Linked DNA regions of Homo sapiens: all the other regions are linked to region 5. The links are contacts of gene promoters, found by promoter capture Hi-C in blood cells and fetal thymus (Javierre and others, 2016). All regions are on one chromosome and are shown on one strand. Each heading gives the region's core, a stretch centred on a gene start or on the middle of the fragment in contact. The rest is flanking DNA. Distances are from core to core; before and after follow the strand shown. Region 1 holds the start of RAB9A (RAB9A, member RAS oncogene family). Region 2 has its middle 3.2 kb from the start of TCEANC. Region 3 overlaps OFD1 (OFD1 centriole and centriolar satellite protein). Region 4 overlaps OFD1 (OFD1 centriole and centriolar satellite protein). Region 5 holds the start of FANCB (FA complementation group B).

The links. Contacts are between HindIII fragments. The CHiCAGO score rates a contact against its expected background, and 5 or more counts as called.
Region 1: a contact is called between a fragment that was not itself captured here and the fragment with the promoter of FANCB in region 5, in 1 of 17 cell types (fetal thymus). The highest score is 6.9, in fetal thymus.
Region 2: a contact is called between a fragment that was not itself captured here and the fragment with the promoter of FANCB in region 5, in 5 of 17 cell types (total CD8 T cells, non-activated CD4 T cells, activated CD4 T cells and 2 more). The highest score is 8.5, in total CD8 T cells.
Region 3: a fragment that was not itself captured here is called in contact with the fragment with the promoter of FANCB in region 5 in 2 of 17 cell types (fetal thymus and non-activated CD4 T cells); the score reaches 6.6 in fetal thymus.
Region 4: a contact is called between a fragment that was not itself captured here and the fragment with the promoter of FANCB in region 5, in 1 of 17 cell types (total B cells). The highest score is 6.0, in total B cells.

The regions. Positions count from the first base shown.
Region 1 is chrX:13,686,161-13,689,597 of GRCh38, reverse strand. It overlaps RAB9A (RAB9A, member RAS oncogene family), which reads right to left and starts at 470. Exons shown (of 3, transcript NM_004251.5): 1 at 310-470. RefSeq lists silencers at 161-320, 331-570 and an enhancer at 721-770. The HindIII fragment of the contact is 530 bases long and covers 1,534-2,063 here.
Region 2 is chrX:13,648,288-13,651,677 of GRCh38, reverse strand. No RefSeq gene overlaps it. Among named protein-coding and RNA genes, the nearest start is that of TCEANC, 3.2 kb to the left of the region's middle. The HindIII fragment of the contact is 2,021 bases long and covers 569-2,589 here.
Region 3 is chrX:13,735,806-13,738,635 of GRCh38, reverse strand. It overlaps OFD1 (OFD1 centriole and centriolar satellite protein), which reads right to left. Exons shown (of 23, transcript NM_003611.3): 3 at 1,958-2,158. Among named protein-coding and RNA genes, the nearest start is that of OFD1, 2.5 kb to the right of the region's middle. The HindIII fragment of the contact is 763 bases long and covers 875-1,637 here.
Region 4 is chrX:13,767,402-13,770,486 of GRCh38, reverse strand. It overlaps OFD1 (OFD1 centriole and centriolar satellite protein), which reads right to left. Exons shown (of 23, transcript NM_003611.3): 21 at 2,263-2,433; 22 at 1,702-1,769; 23 at 1,130-1,421. The coding sequence ends at 1,379. Among named protein-coding and RNA genes, the nearest start is that of OFD1, 34 kb to the right of the region's middle. The HindIII fragment of the contact is 3,179 bases long and covers 1-3,022 here.
Region 5 is chrX:14,871,788-14,875,182 of GRCh38, reverse strand. FANCB (FA complementation group B) reads left to right here and starts at 2,114. Exons shown (of 10, transcript NM_001018113.3): 1 at 2,114-2,197. MOSPD2 (motile sperm domain containing 2) reads right to left here and starts at 1,762. Exons shown (of 15, transcript NM_152581.4): 1 at 1,646-1,762; 2 at 1,425-1,494. The coding sequence starts at 1,654. RefSeq lists a silencer at 1,795-2,024. The HindIII fragment of the contact is 4,870 bases long and covers 519-3,395 here.

The sequences.
Region 1 (3,437 bases), core at 549-3,048, 1.2 Mb after region 5:
AGGTGACCGGGTGTATTTCTCCGTGTGTATGTGCACGGGTGTCCGGGCTTTTGTATCTCCCTTTCTCCAGTGTTTGTGTGTGTTTCTGTGAGTCCCTCTCCCCAAGGGTGTGGGGACCGTCTTTCCTCCTGCGTCAGAGAGGAGGCAGGGAGACAACCAGCCGTCCTCTCTCCCGGGGCGGCCTTGTGACCCGCGCTAGCCCCGCGCGCACCGCACCCCGCCCCAGCTGCCCGAGGCCCGAGCCGCCCCCTCAGACCCCGACACCCGCGCACTCCGCCCGGTCCCGAAGGAGTCCCGAGTCCCGCTCACCTCGCGGCCACACGAAAGACGACCCGGGAGCTCTGGGCCGGCCCGTCTGGGCGCAATGAGGACAGAGAGAGGGTCGGGGACCTGCACAGCAGGAGGCAGCCGCGGTAGCGCAGCCAGGCTCCCGCTCCAGCTGCTCCCGTCCAGCGCGGAGGGAACAACATGGCGACGGGCCGGGGCGGGGCCAGGGAAAAAGCGGGGCGGGGCCTGGAAGGCGGGGTCCCGCGGCCGAGACCCTGGGGGACGGGCGCGGGGAAGGTGGAGCCGAGGCAGGCGGGGCCTGGATCGTGCTTTTCCTTCGGGTCGATTGCTCCTGAAGTGTCCTCCCGTCTGCGTTCGGGCGACAGCGAGTACGAAATAACTGTCATTTTGAAAAGTTTACGTAAAGTGGAAATAAACAGACCTCATGAGCACAGTCACAGGATGTCGTGATTACAATGATAAAAACGACTAGTCAAACGGACAAAGAACAAACAGGTGGATGAAAAATGAAAACAGTTGTGATACTGTGGAAAAACAAGAACTTTTTAAATGAAGCTATTAAAACTTTCCTTTAATCTTGTTAAAATACTGCCTCTGTCATCTCTGAATAGAAAGCGATGGTGCAAAAGGTGGTATTGGAGAAGCTCTCCTTAAGTCCTTGCTTTATGTATGAAGTTGAGTGCATGGATCCTATGATACAGAACCCTACAGGCGGGAGGGACTCATAGGGACATCTCAATACGTTTTGTACGGTGATTTAGTTTGTTTATCAGAAAACCAAATACTGCGTGTTCTCACTCATAAGTAGAAGCTAAATGATGAGAACTCATGGTCACATAGAGAGGAACAAGAGACACCAGGGCCCACTTGAGGGTTGAGGGTGTGAGGAGGAAAAGGAGCAGAAAAAAACTAGGTATCAAGTACTATGCTTATTACCTGGGTAACTAAATAATCCGTACACCAAGCCCTTGCAACAGGCAGTTTACCTACATGACAAACCTACACATGTACCCCTAAACCTAAAATAAAAGCTTTTTAAAAAAGATTTAGTCTGTTTATTTTCCAAGACAAAGATCTCACTTTTATGATGCTGGGGCTCACAACAAGTTAAATAATCTCCAGCTTTTTGGGGAGTCATTTTCAGGTAATGACTTTTCATTCAGCACTAGAAAGGTCATGTTTGAGAAAGTTCCTCACAAATTAAAAAGGCAATTTTAGAATGCTTCTGAAAACGACACATAAGCTTAAATAATTGTTTTCTCATAAACAGAAATCTATTTCTTATCTGCAGGTCATTTCCCCAAGGAAATATGTATAAACGTTTATAAAATACAAATCTGTTAAATTGGGGGGAAGAAGAAATATACACTATCTTGTTTTAAAACACATATTAAAAGTACACAGTAAAACATTATATATGAACACTAGAGTTAATTTTCCAATAGAAAAAAAAGTCATGTACATTGGGTCAAATTGCAACAAGCAATCCACAGGGTAATTAAAGAAATGCCACCTGAAAATCGTATATCCTAACCATAGTCAAGGAGTGATCAAATAGGAGTTTATCTGTGCAACTGCTAATGCCAACTAGCTATTAACAAGTGATCTCATAAAATTATTGTATTTTGAGTTAAAATAAACCTTGACAAACCCAACAGCTTTCATAAAAATGTTCTAAGAAGGTTCCATAAGTGACTCTCAGGCTGTTCCAAAATGTAAGAAGGCATTCAAACATATTTGAGTGTAGCTTATAGTACCTTAAGAAAGAATAAGCTTAGAAAGTTACTTTCTCTAAAATTACTATCAGTTGGATACTAGCCAACTGACATTTAAGAAAGTTAGTATATTCTGGTCTCTTCCACCATTCACTTCTTAACCACATTTCTATGTCAGTGCAAGAGTAAAGTGGGTTAAAAGATTTTTCTCTGAAGGGCAAGTTTGGGGGATTTTTGTTATTGGATGTGTGTGGTTGGTAAGCTGATGCAAGTTGGATAGACAGTTGCTATCTCTCTTGCTCCATAAACTTGTTCCTTGATGAAAACATTAAAGAACTAACCTAGTTTGACTCCCTTCATCTAACGAAGATTTTCATCTTTATATTCTGTAAACACCAATGCATCACTCACGGGAGAGAAAGAGGCCAAAGTTGCTATGCATAAATGATTCTTTTACTTAAATAACACCTACTTATTACTATAAGTACTAGGAGTTAATACCCCATCTCAAGCTGGAGACTGAAAGAAATCACTTCTGGCATCTCTGATGAAAAGCTACAAGTGGCTGGGCGTGGTGGCTCACGCCTGTAATCCCAGCACTTTGGGAGGCCGAGGCCGGTGGATAATGAGGTCAGGAGTTTGAGACTAGCCTGGCCAACATGGTGAAACCCCGTCTCTACTAAAAATACAAAAAAATTAGCTGGGTGTGGTGGCGTGCGCCTGTAATCCCAGCAACTCAGGAGACTGAGGCAGGAGAATCACTTGAACCCGGGAGGTGGAGGTTGCAGTGAGTCAAGATTGCGTGCCACTGCACTCCAGCCTGGGCAACAGAGTAAGACTCTGTCTCAAGAAAAAAAAAAAGCTACAAGTAAGTGGGCCCTAGACTCGGGTACAGTAAATACTGATGATAATTGAACTGCTTTTATTTTCACATACAAGGAAAAACACAGAACTCAGTTGTAGACCATTTCACCATTATATTACATATGTAAATAGTCACAAATTTGATATTTTTCCTAAGTTGTTTGGCCAAATAACAGATTTGGTCGTAATACTGCATAGATGTTCTTCTATAGCTGTACTAAGAGGGGGAAAAAGCATAAAATATACATAAAAGTAACTCAAAATTTGTTATATTTGGCTTTAAAGTCAAGCCGGAGTGAAAATTCATAACAACATATGTTAAGTGAAAAAGAACATTACCAAATAGTATATGGAAGAAAAATCCCAATTTGGTTGAGGAAGCGTTTTTTATAATATATAGCTTTTCAACATATATTGACGTATTTAATAATGCATTTATTTATATACTTACATATTTATATAATATATACATCTTCAATATTTTATACCAATGTCACACTTACCCAGTTTGCCTAGATACTAAGTTCAGCATGTTTCTTGCACTAATATAGAACTTTTGATAGTGATTCT
Region 2 (3,390 bases), core at 330-2,829, 1.2 Mb after region 5:
GTAAGGGGGATTCTGTCTAAACCAACCTGACAAGATTCTTGCTGAAGACGGGCCAGGGTGATCAGATGTCACCTGGAGGTTGGTGGAGGATGAGGAACCAAATCAGATATTAAGGGTGATCAGATATTGAGGGTGGTTGCTTTTGGCTAAACTGATTTATCAAGGCTTTTTGCTAAAACTGGATTTTACAAGGAAGTGCACAGATAGGCCTAGTCAGGAGACTGACTAAAGTTTGGTTGGAAAAGAATGCTTGATAATCTTTACTTTTGCCTGTTAAAATAAAAAAAAATTGACGTAATTTAAATTTGGCAGAGTTTATGTGAGCAAAGAATGATTCATGAATCGGACAGCACTCAGAATCAGAATAGGTTCAGAGAGCTTTGTGGGCCGTGAGTATTTATAGACAGAGAATGGAAGTAAAATACAGAAATAGGCTGATTGGTTGCAATCAATGATCAGATCATTTGGATATGATCTGAGAAGTTGGCAGCTTGTGATTGGCTGAAGCTTGTCTGCTTGTGTTTGGCTGAGACTTGGCTGTTTATTATACTCTTCCTTAGGTTAAGCTTTCAGTGTATTTATGTACTAAGTTAAATTGCAATTCATTGTGTAGAAAATCAAAGTACAGAGACAGCCTTGAGCCAATAGCCTCCTGCTTATTTAATTTAACATGCTTTAATGGTATTTCTCTTCTCATTGTTACTTTTTTGGTTCATTTTATGAGTACTCTTGCCCCACTTTGTAAACACTGATTTAAAAATCCGAAGGACTATTGGCTCCTAGACCAACCATCTCTAGTTTTAGACAGTTACCTAGGAAAAATACTTTCTTTGTGATCAGATTTGTAACATGCAATTCTTAAAATATCTGATATTTGTCAAAACAATGGCACTCAAACTATGAAAGGCTCAATCTGAAGGAGTCAGTTTGGAAACTAGAAGTTACTACAGAAGTGGTCATTAGAGCTTTGAGGCATATTATAATCAATTTCTCATGAACTCTATGCTGAAGAAAAAAACAGAAATTACTCAAAAGTCTAAAATCAAAAACAACCTAGTGTTTTCTCTGGTGTGAAGGATAAGACCATTATTTCAACTAAGAGGCAAGCTATAATTACTGCGTAGTCCTGCCTTGTCTACTACAGTAGCCACATGTGGCTATTCAGATAAAATTTAAACTTCAGTTCCTCAGTTGCACTAGCTAAATGTCAAGTTCTCAATAGCCACCTGTGGCTAGTGGGTACCATATTGGATAGCACAGATATAGAACATGCTCATTGCTGTAGAAATTTCTGGCTGAGTTCATCTGGAATGAATCTAGGGCTGCCAGTGGATTCTAAAGAGGTTGCTGAAAAGTTTGTTCTTTTGGGCAATTTAAAAATGGAATACCTATAAAAGTACTCACATCTATGATAATTTATCATGCATAGTTTTCAGGCCTTTGTTTTAAAATCATCTTTCAGCTGCTTCAATACTCTGGAATTCTCTTTGATAAATTTCCCTTAGTGCAGCGGAAACCTCTTTTCAATCCTTATTAAGTCTCTGAGTGGCAATATATTAATAGATATTCTGAGCTCATGCAGACAGCCCTTTCCTGCAAATTCCCACGGAAGAGAGACAAAATCTTATGGGCCTTCTCCAGAGGCTAATGTTACACATTGCTGAGGGAACAGTTACAGATGTTTTCCATGGAATGAGGTCATAGAAACTGCCTCTTTCTGGGTTCTGAGGTGCCGGCCGGTGTTCATTTCCTGATAAAACACCAGGACCAGACACTGGGCTTAACTGGGGATGTTCTTATAAGTCACAGTACATAAGGCATGGGATTAAAACGATGAAGAGTTCCCTTGAAATCTCAGGAGTTACAGAATATTAGGAAATAGAACAAAAAGTCATACATTATAGAAACAGAAACTTTATGTTTAAGTTCTGCAACATATTTCTCAGACTTATGCAGGTGAAATGACAGAGAAGCAGCGAACATGGTATCTCCAGTGAACATCCCCAGAGGCTTCCAGAAGAGCTAGTTCAACGGGTCAGGCAGTCCCTGGCTGGTGGGCCACAGATTGCTTAAACCAACCTAATACCTCTTTTGTTCTTTGGAGGGGCCCACTTTGGAGATTTTTTGGAGGACCCTCCCTTTGCTGGTAGCCCCTTATTACCCATTCCATGGTTCAGATGCTGCACCCTCTGGTTAACCGCTGGCTCCTGCTTTTGGTAGCACATCCCACACAAACTTTTTCTGTCGGGTTACCTCACCTGCAGGCCTGTTGGTCAGGGTCCTTCCAAGACAGCCTAGGCCCAGCTGCTTGCTTGATGTGCACTTAGCCCATGGGAACAACCCAGCGGCCCTGCTCCCCGCCCAGCCCTGGAAGCAGGGCTGTTCCCTCTGCAGCCCTTCTCGTCATCTTCACAGTTGGTCTTAGGTAGCTCTAGCTGGCTTCTCGCCTATTTATTGTTTTTTTTTTTTTTTTTTTTTTTTTTTTGGAGAGTCAGACACCATTCTACAACAGGGGCACCTGTCAATCTCTCTGAGTGGTTCTCTCAAAGTCACCCTCACTTGCCTTGGAGTGGGGGTGGGAAGGAAGCTTCCAGAACTGTAACAACCCTCTTTCACTGTTGCCTTCTCCTGTACATAAGCTGAAGAGTGGCAAACGGGCATGGGTGACAGGAGTTTTTGGCTCATCATTTAGTAAGCCCTGGGTAAATGGTCTAACATCTCTCATTAGAACCAGCAGACACTTAACATTGTGCTCTCACCTTTGGGGCCTTGGACAAAACTCTGAGTCAGGAAATATCCCATTTAACACCTTCTTGTACCTGTAGTAATCTCCAGATCAGTTCCATACCTCTTATTCTCCTTTTCTATACCATTTGTCCATTTTGCTAATTTCTCTAGAAGGTATGTTATTCTACCATAGATTTATGGCAACATTTAGTGGAGGAATGATGAAGGACCAGAAAGTCTGGCTTCAGTCACCTCTTGGTTGATATGGTTTGGCTGTGTCCCCACCCAAATCTCATCTTGAATTGTAGTTCCTATAATGCCTATGTGTTGTGGGAGGGACCTGGTGGGAGGTAATTGATTCATGGGAGCAGTTACCACCATGCCGTTCTTGTAATAGTGAGTTCTCATGAGATCTGATGGCTTTATAAGGGGTGTTTCCCCTTTTGCTCTGTACTTCTCCTTGCTTTCACCATGTGAAGAAGGATATGTTTGCTTCCCCTTCCGCCATGATTGTAAGTTTCCTGAGGCCTCCCCAGCCCTGCAGAACTGTGAGTCAATTAAACCTATTTGCTTATTAAATTACCCAGTCTCAGGTATTTCTTCACAGTGGTGTGAGAATGTACTAATACATTGGTGCATATCATAAGAGGAAAATTCAGAGGC
Region 3 (2,830 bases), core at 7-2,506, 1.1 Mb after region 5:
TCATCTAATTAACTTCTAAGTACTTCACATCAAAGATGATATGCCTAAATGTTTAATGCCTTACAGATGACACTGAAATATCTGATGAACCAATGACTACATGACTGAGTTCCTGGGTCATTCAATTACAATTTTTTAAAAAGTATTCATTGTTTAAAAATGTAAATAGATTTTTACTGTCCTTAAAACCGTAATTAAAGTGTACTTAAAATATTGTTTAACAGACATTTTGGGTAGCTATTAAAATATATTTCTACTACAGTATATACCATTCACTATGTCTGCTCTGAGAACACTGATATTTGTTTTCAATTGGTTTTCCTTTAAAGTAAATATTCTGCATGGGCATTTTACATTAGTAGAAACCGTTAAGTTGTATGAATAGGATTAATTCCTGCTATATAATTGTATTATTGACTATTACACAATAAGTAAAAGTATAAAGTGATTAGAAAGTTAGAGAATGATGTATCAAAAATGAATTCCAGGCCAGACACGAGGGCTCATGCTTGTTATCCCAGCTCTTTGGGAGATTGAGGTGGGCAGATCACCTGGGGTCAGGATTCGAGACCAGCCTGGCCAACATGGTGAAACCTCCTCTCTACTAAAAATAAAAAAGTTAGCCAGGTGTAGTGGTGGGCACCTGTAATCCCAGCTACTTGGGAGGCTGAGGCAGGAGAATTGCTTGAACACAGGAGGCAGAGGTTGCAGTGAGCCAAGACTGCGCCATTGCACTCCAGACTGGGTAACAGAGCAAGACTCTGTCTCAAAAACATAAATTAATAAATAAATTCCTAATGCTGACAAATAAAATTTGGTTGCTTATGAAGAAATGCAAATTATTTAAGTTTTCATTCAAATACTGTACTAAGCTTGTGTCACTAAAACTTTGGAATATGAAACTTTTGGATAATTACAGAAAACACAAAGAAAGTAAAAACATATGAACACCACCAAGAGTGAAATTTATTTTATTTTTGAGACAGTCTCGCTCTGTCACCCAGGCTGGAGTGCAGTGGCATGATCTCGGCTCACTGCAACCTTCACTGTAAACTATGGCCTCTGGGTGATAATGACATGTCAGGGTAGGCTTATAGATTGTAGCAAATGTACCACCTTGATGCAAGATGTTGACAGTGGGGGAGGCTATGAGTGTGTAGGGGCAGCAGGTATATGGGAATTCTCTGTACTTCCCACTTAACTTTGCTGTGAACCCAAAACTGCTCTGAAAAAATAAAGTCTATTAAAAAAAAAAAAACACGCACATATCCACAGGGAAAGTCTGCTGTATCTGCCTTTAAAATAATAAAGTAGTACTAATGTTCAACAGTAATGGTGAAGAAATATAGTTAAAATAATTAGAAAAGTAGTAAAAAAAAAAAACAAGTGTTTTTAATATTTGAGAACTTTACAGATTTTTTAAATTACGTATTTCTCACTTATCTAATTACAAAGAGAAACATCTGAAGAAACTAGTGCAGGAAAAAAAGAGCTCATGTTAGAGATCTAGATTTACCACCCTGCATTGTCACTTAAAAGTTACTTGATGTTGGGCAAATTGATTCACCTCTCCAGAGTCTGGTTCCTCATCCGTAACACACAAAACATCTGCAGTGTGCCTATCACAGTGCCAAGCTTACAGCAGACATTCAGCAGATTGGCAGAGTCTTATTAGACAAGATAGAGGATAGATAGATCAATTATAGGTCTGAAACATTTAGAGATTCTATACATCACTGTTTTATGTGAGACTAAATGAGACGCCAAGAAATTAATTTCAAATTTAGTACCCACTTGTTATATAACAAATATATTATGTGCAGGTACAATGTGAATTCAAAGAGGAAACAGAAATGGACCTAGTCGAGGAGCACTTAGCTATCATACAGCACTTTACTGTCAGCAGAGGAAGAACCTGTTAATAAAAACTTCAGAAACAGAAAAGGAAAGACTTTACCTTTTCTTTTGCCAAACCACTTTCTGGAAAGAAAACAGAAAGTGAATATTCATAGCCACATCTTTGTAAGTGATCTGCCACTAAAGAGTTAGAGGCGCCTATTAAGAGGGAGCTCCCTTCTACTGAAATGGACCGAGGCTGCAGTTCTCCACTCAATACAGGGTGCATCAACTCATGAATTAGCTGGTTTCGAAGTTGTGTCTAGCATAAAATAAAAACAAAAATAAAAAAGAAACACAAGGGAAAGAAATTTCAGCAGGACTGTTTCATTAGAGATATACACAGATGAGCTACATTCATTGGAAACCTTCCTTCTATTTCCATAATGGTTCTAGATCCATGGCCAGAAGTTAGAAACCTTCCCCTGCACACTTTGTCTTACCCCGTGAGACAAGCAGTCCAGTGGGTTCTAGAAAAAGCTTTCTTTCCCCAGCTTCCAAATGAAACGGGTGGTTAGCCAGATCCACTTGCAGACTCATAACTTCACTTCCCTAGAAGCCCATTTCAGCAGCTTACGATTGGGATATTAAGTATAGGAAAAAATTCTGCCACTTCATCACACCTCTGTGGACTGTTGGAGAATATAACCAAAATATTCAACAACAGGGGACTGCTATATACATTACAAAAATATCCAAAGATAAGCCTGTTGCCACTGAAAATGAAGATTTCAAAAAACTTTTAAGGAAACAGGGAAATGCTCACCATATAATTTAAATTAAAAAAGGATACATACACAGGATATAGCTACATATTTTAAACGTAAAATATGCTTTTGAAATGCATATTTCAATGAAAACACGTTGAGCTAATCCTACTCCTGGCTGTTAATCCAAATATAAAGCATACTAATAGGTATTTTCTGCCCAAACT
Region 4 (3,085 bases), core at 184-2,683, 1.1 Mb after region 5:
GATTTTATTTTATAATCTGTTTAAACTCTTACCTCTCAACATGATTATGCATTTGGATTCTCTGCGTCTGACCTTTCTTAGTGAGGCCCAGCCTTTGTCACTATTGACACATGGCCATTCCTAAATGAGGTGCTGACTCTAGATCATCACCCTTCCTTCATGCATGGCAGAACAATCAGGAGGCTCAATTAGTGTGCTATTTGTCACACTACTTAGTATCTTCTGTTTAAGTAGCATTTTGTGCAATTATTTAAGTCACATGAGTCACCAGAGGAAAACTGTAAATAATGGTTAGATAAAATCACAAGCAGCCTCTTAATTACCCATAGTGATCCTGCCACGAAACCTAGGACCCTTTAGAGGGTTCAGTAGAGATTTTTTTCCAGTTCTGCCTTGTAAAACTTGATTTTTTAAGAGATGAAGTCAATTATAGGGAAGGAGCCCATTCATTTAAAAACAAAGGAAATACGCCCATTCATTAAGTATGAGGACCAAAGGTTCCATAATAAAGATGCTATCTCAGTCTGTTCCTGCTGCTATAGCAAAATACCTTAGACTGGGTAACTTACAAAGACCAGAAATGTATTTCTTACAGTTTTAGAGGCTGGGAAGTCGAAGATCAAGGAAGGCACTGGCAGGTTCGATGTCTGGTGAAGGCCCGGTCTCGGCTTCCAAGATGGTGCCTTGTTGCTGTGTTCTCCAGAGGGGATCAATGCAGTGTCTTCAAATGGTGCAAGGGCAAAAGGGCCTAGCTAGTTCCATTGAGCCCTTTTATAAGGTCACTAATCCCACTCTTAGTCACCTGCAAAAGGTGCCACCTCTTAATTCTATCACACGGGGGGGTTTAAATTCCAACATATGAATTTTGGAGGGACACATACATACAAACCACAGACATCAGAAGTAAAGACCAGAGGCAGTATCTTTCTTACTATTTCTAATGCCTAGAAAAATCTGTTTTTATGTTCAGGGACAAAACAGGAGTGTGCTAGGAAAAATGACCTCCTGTTTTACAGGTGGCAGCCCAACTTTGGAGAGGAAAGAACACAGCTTATACTTCCAAAATGTAGGCCTGCAGTTGAGCAGTAAGATAGGTTATACTCATTTATAAATTTAAGACAAAAATAAGGAGGTTAAAAGCCAGTTACTTTTATTATAATGAATGAGAAATACTATGACTGGAGAAGAGGTTTCACGTGACTAGATTATTCTTGGTTCACACACTATGGTATCAAAATTAATTATGGAAAAAAAAACCCACATTGGATTACACACATTTTTATTGAGTTTTGTCTGATGATAGGGAAACATTTACAAAGGAGTAAATGTTACGTAACTTCTCACGGTATGTAAGTTAGAAGCTGGGCAGCAAACATGGTTACCAAGAGTCGTCTAGTTCTTCATGAGAAAAGCCTGTTAAACTAAATTAGGGAAAGATAAAAATTAAAATGTAAAAATTTGTGTCAAGTTTATTTGCTATCTTCATAATGTTCTCAATTCCTTCCCTGGGGGGTTTCTGCCCTAGTTTACAATTTATATCAGGATCAATTTCACAAGTCAAAAAACTCAATTGTTTTTATAGTCACTAATTTTGACTGATTCAATAACTTCTTACAGGCAATCTCAAACATCTGTTTCTCTTGGCTGACAAAATAAGCAATTAACAGTTTGTGTATGAAAGTGTGTAGGGAAAACAGGTACCTTTCGACTTTGTCACTAGATTGCAGCGTGTCCACTAGGGAGCCTTCTTGGACCATCTTTTTTGAGCTCTGATTACATGGAGAGGGTGGAAAATTTTGAAATTAGATATGCATTAATTTCATGAAATACTTTAAGAACCATTTTTGAAATATATATGTAATTTAAAAGTCTAAAAAAGAGGTGACTTTTAAACATGAAATTTAGCAAGCACATCAAAATAAACTATAGGGTATGCATTTAACACCCATAATACTTCAGACTTACATAAAATATTAATGTCAGTATTAATGCATTTGATAGATCTTTTCTTTCTTAATGAGCCACCCCAACTTTTACAAATTAAAATCTCTTAAATCTTTTACCTTAAGCAAAAAAGCTATGAATTTTTGTCAAAAGAATAGTATATTTAAAAGACTCAAGGTTCCATTTGAACTTTGGATTTTCTATACTTTTCACCTTTTTGTCTTCAATGGAGAAGACGGATTCCCGTCCCAAGAAGTTAAGCCACGGAAGCCCTGGATGTCCCCCACCCACAGATTGCCCTGCCCATGGCACTGGCACCTTATCTGCCGACTCCTGGTCTTGCTCCTGCTGGATGATTTTCATGTATTTCTCTAAAGGATTTTCACTGTGAGCAGATTTGTCTTTTATTTCTTGATTACTCATTTCTAATTCATTTTCCATTTCTAATTCCTTTTTTATTTTAATCTTCAGTGATTCTTCAATCATCTTCTATAAAACAGGCACCAAAACAGAAAATACACAAATACATTTGTAAAACTTTTAAGTGTTTTAAAAATGCACTAATATTAATCCCGATCCTTCAAGTACAGCCTGTATGCCAGAGGACTAATTTTTAAAATTGAAGTCATTGCTATCATCAAAGGAAGACAAATATGTCATCTCAATGAAGGAAGGTATTAATTGGCAAGTGTCCTGTGCTTTGGACTTGAATTAACCAAGAGTCCAAGGAACATTCATATGTTAGAGTAATTCAAGCAAGACTTAGCAGGTGTGTTAAGTGGACAGAGTAATCCATCTGCTAGGACTAGAATTGGGACACAGAAGGCAAGAAGAGAAATAGAGGAAGGAGGGAGGGAGTGTGTGCCCCTGGAAGCAACTGTGAACTGGCAGCCACTCCTCCCTTGGGTTCTAGTCCCAGCTAGCTGGCACTGACAGTCTCTTCTTTAAACCCTGTTTTCAAAGCAAAGTTCTGCAGCAAAGCACAGTCTACCTTTTTTACAGGCTTGTTTTAAGGATCAGATGAGAATGTACAAAAATTACCTTCAAAAACTATCCTTTACTACAAAACTCCTAAGCTTCACATTCTGTGCAGCCTTTCCCACTGCTTTTAAGACAAGGAGAGGACAGGGATGCCTTTTAA
Region 5 (3,395 bases), core at 865-3,364:
ATCAGGGATTTTGAGCAAATCTCTTAATCTCTCTAGACCTCACTTTCTTCATTTTAAAAATGAGGAGGTTGCCCCAAGATGACCTTTAAGATCTTGTTTATTGCCTAATTTCTGCCTGTATTCTGCTTCCTCCCTTGGGCATAAATAAATGACTATTGGGGTGTTACTAGCTCATTAGGTCGAATTCTGAGTTACTTCTTAAAATATTATAAACCATGTATTAACAGCTATAATAGTTACATTTCTGTAGAAAGCAATTGAAGAAGGATCTCTTTATTGGAACCAGCTATATTATTAGAAATGGGAACTCTGGGTGAAAAGTGAATCAAGTGCTTTTGCAACTCTCTGGAACAAAGTTTGGGGTGTGAAGAAAATTGGCAAGGAGGTATGAAAAGATTTACTGACAAGTATTTGAAACCGATTTCCATATTTGTTCTATGTCATCAACTGATGTATAATCTAGGATGGTTTAAAGTTGCAGGGAACCTCTGCTGAGTACTAGTCAAGATGTAGAAGCTTAACTCCTTTCACAGTAACCAAAATGACAACTGAGGCAAAATATTCACTGAGAATCCACTATATTTTAAGACATGCTAGATGGTTTATGTTTTTTTAAAAAATTTAATCCTACTAACTTTATTATTTGCACTTCACAGATATGAAAACGGGCTCAGAATAGACAAGTAAGCTATGTAGTGGCAGGGTTAGGATTACAATCAATCTTAAGGTAGGCAACATATAAATCCTTATTTAATTCCATATTTACAATAAGTTATTCCGTATGTTTTACAAAATTACTGTACAAGCATTAAATATTCAGTTAAGTACCTGACAACTCAAGTATCTGTGACATCTGGACACAGAATGTTCAACCAATAAATCAATTCTGGACTCATAGGTACTTTGCAAGATACAGTTTGGGATAAGAACTTGTTCCAGCATTGGAGGGCCTATTTTGTGGGTAGCATGCTGGGTTGTATGAAAGCCAAATCAAACAAAATATCCAAGGAATTTGTATACCCAATTAAGTACACATCAATAGTATTATGGCAGTTTCCAGGTACATTTTCGCTAGTGTTGCTGGTGAAAGGCCAGCAGTGGAACCGTGGACTGGACAATGTCACCCGTGTTGTGGGCCTAACAAGTATCCTGCAAGTTCCATAAACACGAGGGCATGCTAAAAACTTAACCGATTTCCAACTTACATTAACCCTTTAAAGGGAGCATGGGACACACCACTTGACCATTTGAAGCAGTGCACACGGCTTGTCATGGAGAGGAAAACCTTTGAGACGTGCCCAGCATCATTCCTGTGAGGGTCGAAAGGGTCCCTAACACCTCCCACAAATACACTCACAAACACTCCAGCAAAGTTGGGGATGCTCACTGCACACCTTTCTTAATACCTGGAACAGAGTACCCACCTGTCACATACTCAGCTTCGAACCTCCTCCGGGTCTCAGAGATGAGCTTGGCTTTATTCTGGGCGTGATTCTGGATGGGAGACACGATGGGACCTTAGATACTACTTGCATCAACCCGCTTACCCTCAACCCAGCCCACCTGCACACGGGCGCTCGGTCCCCGGGCCTCAGAGGCGGCTTCCGGGTCCGGGGGGCCAGCGGCGGTGCAATAGGCTCCTCACCTCTGCCATGATCACCGTCGTGGATGTGATTGCGGTTGTCGCCGTCGCCCGTTCTACCGTCGCCGACCGAGTATCTCATCACCCGGCAGTCCCGCCCAGAGGTAGACAGAGAAGGGTGGGAGGGGGAGGCGGTCGCGTGACACCGGAAGGCGGACAGAAGCGCCGCCGCACCGCCCAATCCAATGCGGACGCCTGGGTCTGGAGGCGGGACCAGGCCCTCAGCCTAGGTCCCATTCGATTCTCGTCTGGCCTCGCCCCGCGACATCCCCCGCACTGCGGTCCCGCCCCCGCCAGCCGCGAGATCGCCGGCGCTTCCCCCGCGGAGCTCCGCCCTAGAGAGCTCGCGGGCTCTCTGCTTTCACAACACTCCCCAGGGCCCCGCCTCCTCAGCCTCCCTTGGCCACCTCTCCTGGCTGGCTTCTAGGCTCCGCCTCCTCTGCGTTCGACGCAGCCTCCGCCCGGCCTCCCAGGATGCAGCGCGCTGGCGGGAGGTTTGGAGCAGATGGATACCGTATCGACGTGGGGCCTCCGGTATGTTGCCGCTGCGTTGAGGTAGGATGGGGCTGGCGAGTCTTCCCTTCCCAGGACTTCGCAGAGGGGGCGATGGGGCTGGATTTCCTCCCCTTGTCCCCGCATTGCGGGAGAGAGGGAAGGAAGCGGGCATCCCGAGACCTGGGTCTGTCATTCCTTGCAATGATAATTGGATTTTAAGTGCTACATTCGCTTGAAGTTTTTTTCATCCCTTCAGTATCCTTCCAACTTGGAGTGTGAGATGCTTAATGAGCAAAATATCTCTGAAATCTTTAATCTCAAATAATTATATAAAGTTAAAAAAAGCGTGTTTCGGCTTATTAAGGTAGTTGTGTTCAGCCGGGGGGGTGGGGGGGTGTGTGTGGGGGGGGCGGTTTTACCACCCAGGGGACCTTTGGCAACCTCTGGAGACATTTTTAGTCACCACTGCTAGGGGCCGGGGGCAAAAGAGATGCTCACTGGCTACTAGTGGATAGAGACCAGGGAAGCTGCCAAACATCCTCCAGTGTACATGAAAATTCACAACAGTTATCCAGCCCAAAATGTCAATAGTGTCAAGGTTGAGAAAGATTTAGATTTAAAGGGACTGGAACAAATTTTATTCGTCAGTTAAAAACAATTGAAAGAAAATAGTTGCGCATACAATATTGCCTTTTTTAAAGTTGAAAGATACTGAAAACTACAAACAAGTTGTAAGAATAGTCCCCCATATTTCCATCAACCGTAGTCATCCATGACAGAATGGCATGTTAGCATCTTTTGTCCTAGACTTTTAAATATATTTACATTTTTTATGGGAAAAAATGAACACATTGTTTAAACGTTGTTTGACTACATCCTTAAAAGATATTTCAGATATAACTAAAGTCTCCTTCTACCTCTACTCACCTATCCTGGACACTTCCTTGTCCAGAATCAACAGCATTCAGAATTTGGCATGAAATGTTTACAGTTTTACATTTTTTTATTTTGGATCATACTGCCTGGGTTTGAATCCTGGCTCTGTCACTTCTTATCTGCAAGCCTTTGAGAAGATCCTGAAACTCCTTGCCTCAGTTTCTCCATCTATAAAATGGGATAGTAACAGTGCCTATGTCATAAGGATGTTGTGAGGAAGAAACGAGTTAATCCAAAGTGCTTAGAGCAGTACCTGGCACTGTTTCTTCAGGAAAAAAAAAAAAAATAGTACATGGCACTATTTCTTGAGAAAGCACTCAGG